3 separate regions of the Homo sapiens genome follow, and all the other regions are linked to region 2. The links are contacts of gene promoters, found by promoter capture Hi-C in blood cells and fetal thymus (Javierre and others, 2016). All regions are on one chromosome and are shown on one strand. Each heading gives the region's core, a stretch centred on a gene start or on the middle of the fragment in contact. The rest is flanking DNA. Distances are from core to core; before and after follow the strand shown. Region 1 overlaps MSRB3 (methionine sulfoxide reductase B3). Region 2 holds the start of HMGA2-AS1 (HMGA2 antisense RNA 1). Region 3 overlaps MSRB3 (methionine sulfoxide reductase B3).

Evidence for each region. The method cuts DNA at HindIII sites, captures the fragments that hold promoters and counts their contacts. A CHiCAGO score of 5 or more calls a contact.
Region 1: a fragment that was not itself captured here is called in contact with the fragment with the promoter of HMGA2-AS1 in region 2 in 1 of 17 cell types (endothelial precursors); the score reaches 5.8 in endothelial precursors.
Region 3: a fragment that was not itself captured here is called in contact with the fragment with the promoter of HMGA2-AS1 in region 2 in 1 of 17 cell types (megakaryocytes); the score reaches 6.9 in megakaryocytes.

Annotation. Positions count from the first base shown.
Region 1 is chr12:65,279,009-65,282,006 of GRCh38, reverse strand. All of the region lies in intron 1 of MSRB3 (methionine sulfoxide reductase B3), which reads right to left. Among named protein-coding and RNA genes, the nearest start is that of MSRB3, 1.8 kb to the right of the region's middle. RefSeq lists silencers at 2,575-2,884, 2,985-2,998. The HindIII fragment of the contact is 1,737 bases long and covers 423-2,159 here.
Region 2 is chr12:65,880,846-65,883,574 of GRCh38, reverse strand. It overlaps HMGA2-AS1 (HMGA2 antisense RNA 1), which reads left to right and starts at 1,250. Exons shown (of 3, transcript NR_158985.1): 1 at 1,250-1,857. The region is part of intron 3 of HMGA2 (high mobility group AT-hook 2); the gene reads right to left. The HindIII fragment of the contact is 6,963 bases long and covers 1-2,729 here.
Region 3 is chr12:65,321,971-65,324,852 of GRCh38, reverse strand. All of the region lies in intron 2 of MSRB3 (methionine sulfoxide reductase B3), which reads right to left. Among named protein-coding and RNA genes, the nearest start is that of MSRB3, 45 kb to the right of the region's middle. The HindIII fragment of the contact is 478 bases long and covers 1,067-1,544 here.

The DNA.
Region 1 (2,998 bases), core at 42-2,541, 600 kb after region 2:
ATCATGGGCAGGAAAGAGAAAATACAGAATATTCAAAGTAAATCCTTGAGATACAGCAAGAAGAAATGCTAACTAACAACTGGCAAATTAAATAGCTGATTACCCTTCCATCCAAATCCAGTTTAATTCTGCTAAATCAGATAGGTAGATCCAATTCAATCTTCTCTGAGGTAAGATCAAAAGGTGATAACCCATTATAGGCTATTTCATCTGGAATGCTCACAGATAACTAGCCTTCCCAACCACAGAAATGTTTGGATGCTCTCTGGCGGTATCCCTAACCCAGACCTAAATAACAAAACTGAATATCAAACTGTCTTAAGGCCTGGGCTTAACTATCCCCAAAAACCAGTTAGGCATTTACCCTATGACATAATCAGCACTTTCTGCTATTAGATGAGGAAGAAAAAGTGATAGAAGCTTAACACGGAATCTGTCCAGGTATGTATGTATCTTTGTGCATGTTCCAGGTATTAACACAATCCTGAGACAGATCCGGACTCTCCAACACTGGACCACACCCATCACATCTGGCTAAGGTAGGCCAGTTTGACATGTATAGCAAGTCACAGGCTGACAATCAGAAGTTTGAACCACATGTAGTAGGTGGCTCTGAAGAGTTACATAAACAAAAACAACATTATAGGATCTTGGAGTTAGAAGAGACATGGAAACTGTCCAACTTAATAATTTTACCGAGAAGCTAAACATGGGAATCAAATTCATCAACCAAATCCATAACTATGATAAATTAATTATACAGGTGCAGATAAATTAGAGGGATTGTGACCAGATTATGACAGAACCAAAAATGCAGTGGTGTGATCACGGCTTACCACAGCCTCGATCTCCCTGGCCCAAGCAATCCTCCCACTTTGGCTTCCCAAGTAGCTGAGACCACAGGAGTGAGCCACTATGCCCAGCTAATTTTTTTTTAATTTTTGTAGAGACAGGGTATCCCTATGTTGACCAGGCCGGTCTCGAACTCCTGGGTTCAAGCAATCCTCCCACACTGGCCTCCCAAAGTGTTGCATTACAGGCATGAGCCACCACACGTGGCCTTAAAATCTATTTTTAATTATTAAATGGCATATGTATTAGAAAAACTGATGAACCTTACTGTTGGGATAGTCTTTGGATATTCTTTTGAGTTGAGCAAAATAGCAAGGATTTCTGACTTAATGGATTAACATCTTAGTTAAAATATTAGAACAAGCACTTTTAAAAACAAAAAGCAGTGTGTTGATTCAAAATCTAAATTACATTGTATGCTGCAACCTTGCCATACAAGCAGTTTAAGCACTGTGACAAAATTCTAGATAAGTAGCAAAGAGCTACTTATCTTAATATAAAAATTTCCAGATATTCATATAGGGCCCTAATAAAAGTCATCAGAAATTAGACTGATATATCAGCTGGGACCGGAATTAAAAGAATATATGTTTAAATGGTCCAAATATAAACTTGATGTTCAAAATTACTGGCAAGGGGCCAGTACAGTGGATTCTGGTCTTCGAAGGCCGTTTCACCACAAGTATTAGGTAAGTCAACACATCACTGAGGAAAAAGAAAGCATACATATGTTTCCTGGCAATAAAATCCACTCTTCACTATCCAGCACAGTATTTTTTAGAAATCCATTGAAAAATGTGAAATTAGAACCTGTTGTATTTCCCAAGAAGTGCTATTAAAGTTACTTCCAAAATATGAATCTATAAAAAACAGGGTTTTTTTGAAAAACAATACTATGCAGAAAGAAACATGAAACTGATATCACTGCTCAAGTTACTATTTACAAATTGCAAATTGAATAAAGTTAAATATTGTAAATATCTGCCATTAATCTGAACTGACAATTTTATAAGTTATATGAACCCTGAAGTTTTTTTATAGACAAAATTGTTTTTGAAAATCGATCTTGCCACCAGCGCTGCAAATGAAAATATGAAGAGATAAACCAGAGAGTACTGAATATAATCTATGCTTCATAGAGTCATGTTTCAACTAATTTATGAGTCCTAGTTTGCCATATCTTATTTGACAATTTAGTCTATTGGTAGAAAAAACAAAAGCAAACTAAAATCTCCTAAGAAATCTCAGCTCTAAGGAATTATAATTTATATTCTTCCATTCCCGATAAAATTAAGAAGCAAGAAGCTTTGACGACTACTCATCACAAACGTAAAAGTCCATGCAATTTCACATTTACCTTTATCCCTACCTTTGTACTTTAAAATAACTGCTTTTTAAAATAATAATCTGATATTAAATTCCCCCCAACAGTTCCCACATGATTCAAGAAGATTATCTTATAAAGTCTTACTGTAACGACTTCATAACTGCCACTTCCGATAGCTATTAGCCCTAAACCAAATAAGGCAGGAACAGCACTTTTCATTCATATAGTTTGACTCGAAATAGCCCAGTGTAAAACTTCAAAAATAGACTTGGATGCCTTTTTCTGCTTAAAAACAAAGCAAAACTGATACCTGGCAAACTCGGGGTTCTGTTCGATTTTGGCCTGTGAAATGCCAGGCGGGCCCGCTGGAGTCTGGCCCAGCAGCGGGGCAGCAGCGCAGGGAGGGCGGGCGGCGGGTGCGCTCCCGGGTGCGCCCCTCCCTGCCGCCTGCCCGCCGCCCCGCACCCCCGTCCTCTCCGAGGCGCGCGGCGAAAAGCGCAGGCCTGGCGGGCCGGTTCCCACGCCTCGGGCCCGTTATCTGAGCGGCAACCCCGGCAGGGTCGACGCACAGAGCAGAGGGCTCCGGGATGGACCCCTCCCCTGCCTCCCGCGGGCTGCCCCGCCAGATCCCTCTCTCCTGGGCCCGCGCGGGGCGAGAGGCTCCCGCGGGTTCAGGTTCGCTCCCGGGACAGGATAAGGTGTCAGTGAGGCTGCCAGACGCCTCCCTTCGGCGGGTGGGGGGAAACCAGCCCTGACCTCCTTCCGTTCGGCCCCTCACCGCTGGCGCGGGGCGCAACCCTTCTGCTCCCCTTCTCGGCT
Region 2 (2,729 bases), core at 1-2,500:
GGACATAGCACAGTGACTAAGTGCATAGGAGCATTTATTAGCTGAGTGATCTTGAACAAGTTATTTAACTTCTCTCTAAGTCTCACTTTCCTCATCACAAAAGGAAGAAATATTTCATAAGGTTGTTGTGGAAACTGAGGTAATATATAGACAGTACTTTGCACAATACCAGACACCCAGTAAGGGCTCAAGAAATGGTATTGTTGTTATCCTTATCTTTAACAAGTGATTCACAACCAGTTAGTGTCAGAACAGGATGCAAAGCACTTTTGGAGTATCTGTTGCTATAAACCGAGTTCCTTATCCTTTGCATCTATCTGGGTCTAAGGAGGCAAGATCACATAGCATTAACATTTTCCACAAATGTGGTGTGATCCATCGCCTTTCCTCTTCTTTCACCCCTAGAGTAAGCCTTCAGCCTCTTAGGAAGTGTTTTCCATCAGAATTTAGCTTTGAAGTTGAACATTTTAAACTCTGTTGGGAAGGTTCAGACGCACATTGACAAAGAAGATAAACAAAGAGTCAGGAAATCTAAACGGGGAAGATGCCATGGCTCACATTACCTGCTTCCTCCTAGTTGGAGTTGAGCTCTTCCTGGAAGCGGGGCAGAGTCTGCCATTTGATTAAACAATTCAACATCAAAGCTGAACAAAAACATATAATCAATCTGATCTTAATTCAAGTGTGCCTACCCCTCCTTGTGAAAAGCAGCCTTGTTTTAAAAAATATTTCCCTAGCAGATCAGGTATTTTTGAACAACTCCCTATCGTTTCTGCTTCACTTCCATCTCAAGTTCTGGTTCACATAACTAGCCAACATTTACTGAGGGCCCATTAAGTGGCCAGGCATTGTGCCAAGTGCTTTGTTTATGCTTTCTCATTTAATTGTCACAACAACCCTTAGAGGTATTTTCTCATCCCCATTTTACAGATGAGATGGAGGCTGGGGAGAGTAAGTCACTTGTCCAGGGTTACACTATTAAGAGCTGAGCGATTAAAACCAAACAGCAGTGGGGACAGGCCCTCAGGAGACATTTCTACTCCTGGCTTGGTCACTGCTCAGATACGTCACATGTCTTCTAGGCCTCAGTTTCCCGGCTTGGAGAGGATGCAGCCTCTCTAGAAGTTCCCTTCCACAGCCTGCGGCAGCTTCCCAGGGCGGGCGGGCTGCTTTGTTTCCACACTCAGCTGCTGTGGCTGGGGCCTCCCTGGGCTCTGCCCTGTTTTGTTTTTGCTGCTGGACCTGCTACAGACGCAACCCTGGCAGCGCAGCCCGGAGCACAGCCGAGGCTTCCTCTTTCTCTCAGTTCCTGGCTGCTTCAGTATGAACAGAAAAGGTGGGCAGGGGCCAACTGGCAGGAGCCTCCGAAATAGCAGCACATGATCCTCCTACCAGCAGCAGAAAGGCCAGCCCGCAAGACCTCGCCGCCTGCCCAGCTCTGTCATTGACTAAGGTTGCTTTTGTCAGTACAGCCGCCAGGGGTTTCCACGCTCATTCCCCTCCGGACAAGGTGGACAGCTTTGGTGATAGACAACTGGGAGGTAAAACTCCACAGAGCCATGCCAGCGACTGACCGCCCAGGGACAGGAGATGGAGACGTTCAGCTGCAAAGGCTACGGAGGAACCCCCGCAATTGGAATCTCTCCATGCCTTCTGCAGCATGGAAACATACTCCGGGACCTACCGGGGCTCTCTCGGGCCACCTCTGAGTGCAAGGGAAAAGAGTGCAGTTCAAGGAAGGGAATGTGTCTGTCATCCCACCACTTGCGCGCAAGGCCAGTTCCGGGATCAGCAGGCTTCCTTCACCAGCACGGGCTCTTCATTAGCAACCACTGGGAGGGAATGTGTGCGGAGTCAGTGAGTGAAGCTCTCCTTCAGCAATTTCTCTCCTCCTCTCATATTTCTCCCCTCTCTCTCTCTCTTTCTCCCTCCCTCCCTCCCTCCCTCCTTCGCTCCCTCTGGGTCCAGGACAATACTCAGGCCAGGACAGTTCCAGTCATAACTGGATCTTTCCATTACTTGGTAGCACACAGGAGGATTTGTTGGAGTGGTTTTTTGTTTTGTTTTGTTCTGCTACTATTAAGCAAGATTGCTTCATAATCCTTTAAGGGTTTTTTTTAGCCAAGTCTTATTTACATATCCTGGCCAGCAAGCACGTGATTAACCCAAGGATGTTGGAGGGAAGGCAGATGCTACATCTGAAAAAAATCTGATTATGTTTCATTCTGGAGATACAAACAGCCGAGCTGTCAAAAGGACAACAGTCTCTTGGGCCAACATGACACCAAACTCTCAAACTCTGGAGACCCTCAGAGACAAGGAGGAGGAGCTGCTGAGGTAGGGGCACAGATGCGAGGAGTTCTTCTCCCTCTCTCCTTCTCTTTCACTATCTCCACTTTGGGGGCAAAGTGTCAGGATAGCCAGAGGTACACATAATCTAATACATGGAAATGGTGGTAAACTGCCTGTCAATTCACCGCACCACCATAATATGTCTAAAATGTGGTGCCTGTCTACAACTTACATGCCACCCAGAAAACAAGCTGCACTGGCATTTCTGCATTGACAGAAAGGACATTTGAAAATTTTCCCTACAGGCATTATTTCAACTGATATTTACGAGTGGTTTTATGGGATAGAATCGTGCCAGTCATATCAAGGAACTTTTCATATCTTTCAACCCATGCTAAGATAAATAGAGCCAGTTATGATTATTCTCATTTCTTGAA
Region 3 (2,882 bases), core at 56-2,555, 560 kb after region 2:
ACCCATCTGTATGTCATTTAGTACAAGAGAAGCAACTGCAGGTTTAAATTACATGGTATTGGATTGCAATTTCCTAACATTGGATGCTTTTCTGCCTTTTTACCTTGAGTCATTTACTAAGGAGTGTTCATAAAAAGTAGCTTAAAGCACAGATGCTTGCAAATCATTTAGGCAAAGATGTTTCTCTCTTTTTCATTCTCCCTCTCTCATGAATCTCTCTTTTCCGAAGAGAATAAAACCGTTGGTCAGTATTGATGAACCATGTCAAGTATTTGTACAAGAAAAAAAGGTAAAATTGAAAACATCTGATTGAAGTAAATAATACAAACATAAAAGCTTTACTAGTGAATGAAGGGTATTGAAGAGACTTTATTTCATAGATTAGAAATTACTTTTGATCTAAACATTCTTAAAAACAGATTGTTTTCCACTATGAAACATCTCATTAACTGTGCTACAGAGACCTCGTTTTAATGGCAAGCCTTGAAAGAGTGCTGCTGTACTCCTTTGTTAGTCTCCGTCTTATTTGGGAGGGGAATAAAGATTTCATTCCAGCTTTCTTTGTTTGTCTTTCAAGAACCACTAAAGCAGTATTCACACAAATTTTGTAGGAATGTGCCCTATGTCATAGCCTACAAATTATTTGGTTTTGGTGCACTTAAAGGTCATCTTCCAAATTAGCAAAATTTTTTTACATCCTGGCTTTTCAACCTTAAGTATAAATATTGTTTCCTAACTGTAAGTGAGGTTTGTCCTTTAAGAAATACTAGTGATTATTTAAAGTTGTCAAACTTTGTACATTTTCATTCTTTGGTTATACTATATTCTCAAAATAATTAGGTTTTCAAAGTATATCTAATACCAAAAGGAAATATATGTAGACTAGAAACAACTATTGTGATTTTACATTAAACAATTCAATGAGAAGTTGGTCAGATTTTAATAAATATCTTGCCACACCATTTAATAATAATAATATACTTCCTGGACAATTTAAAGCTATACTATTACATTAGCCCTTCTATCATCAGAACCAAATATTGGTATATATAAACACAGAAAAGCTTCACTTTTGTCTCTTATTTCCCTTCTCCCTATCAGACTCACTTTTCTAAAGTCATATGGTGCCACTGTTAATCTTGAAAAAATCATTTCATTTTGAAATTCTGGAGTAATTCATTGGATGGTTTCCCTTTACTATCTTCACTTAGGTACTGTAATTTTCTTATTACACAGGGTAATTTAACATTAGTATTATATGACATCTGTTCAATGACCTCTAAATTGGCTTAGAAGTATGTTTGGGAAAGATTTTTCCCTTTATTTAAATGTTTAATAGTGTCTTTTGAAGGCACAAGTGAGTGTGTGTGTACACACATGTAACACAATTACATATTTGAGGAGATAATATTGCCATTTTGGTATCTAATCATAACACCGTTCCTTACAGAGTAACTTTGAGATAGATCAGTTCCATCTTGAACATAGTCCAAGGATATTTTATTTATTGAAATATGTCCAAAGTCTCTTTTTATAGCGAAGCTTGTCCTGTGTTGTTGCCTCAAGGCCAGTATTGTTTCGAAGCCCCAGTATGAAGCTCTTGCTATTAGTACAAATAAACGTACAGCAACAGTTTGCTTTGTGGCTCTGCCTGCTTCCCAGCCACGTGACCTGAAGCAAGTCACCTTTGCTATGTGTTGCCACCCTCAAAGATCTGCTATAAGGATCACAGCCATTAGCACTTACTTCATTTTGATTACAGTGAATTCTGAGGTTAAAATTGTATTTTAAAAGATAGCCAGGTCCAGTATTTAGTGTGCAGCAATCTTTTATTGGTAATTCTTTTTCTATAATAATTCCCTGGGAACAGTATTTTCCTCACACCTTATCTTGTTTTTATGATTAAAGTGGGAAATGAAGGAAGAAAATAAAACTAAAATTTGAGTCCTCCTACATGCCAGGCACATGTCTAGGCACTTTCACATAAATACATTTAATCTTCTCAATAATTCTAGAACGTGGCTGTCATGCCCATTTTACAGATACAGAAACTGAGGCGTGGAGAGGTTATAACATACCTTATTAAGGACAAACAGCAAGTAGACTTATCAACTCAAACCCAGGGCTGTCTGACTGCAAAACTCATAGTTGTTATATTTTCTTTCTTCTTCTTTTTTTTTTTTTTTTTTTTTGAGATGGAGTCTCGCTCTGTCACCCAGGCTGGAGTCCAGTGGTGTGAGTTCAGCTCACTGCAACCTCTGCATTTCGGATTCAAGCGATTCTCCTGCCTCAGCCTCAGCCTCCAGAGTGGCTGGGATTACAGACGCCCACCACCACACCCGGGTAATTTTTGTATTTTTGGTAGAGATGGGGTTTCGACATGATGGCCAGGTCTCGAACTCCTGACCTCAGGTGATCTGCCCGCCTCGGCCTCCCAAAGTGCTGGGATTACAGGTGTGAGCCACCACACCCAGCCAGTCATCATATTTTGTCAGGAAAAATTATGTAACAACTTTTCTTCTTTCTTCTCTAACTATACAATAACTTTCAGCTTAAAAACTAACAAAATAATAAGGGGGAAAAAGTAATAATCACCTCAGTACATCAGAAAAGTTACATACATTTATCTATTAGCCAATGTCTCTTTTCCCTGTATTTACTCCTTCAACATAGGGTCAGTGACAAGTTTCATACAGGATTCTCACAAAGTCTATGAAACGTTGAAAGGCTTTTTTAACTTCCTATTAAGAAGTAAATTAGATCTGTTACCTAAACCTTAGAGTACTTTTAAGTCATAAATTTTATATTTCGGTGTGAAAAATCAAAACAAAACAAAACCTAAGGATCCCATAACTTTAATTTTGGTTCTAGAATCAGAAAAA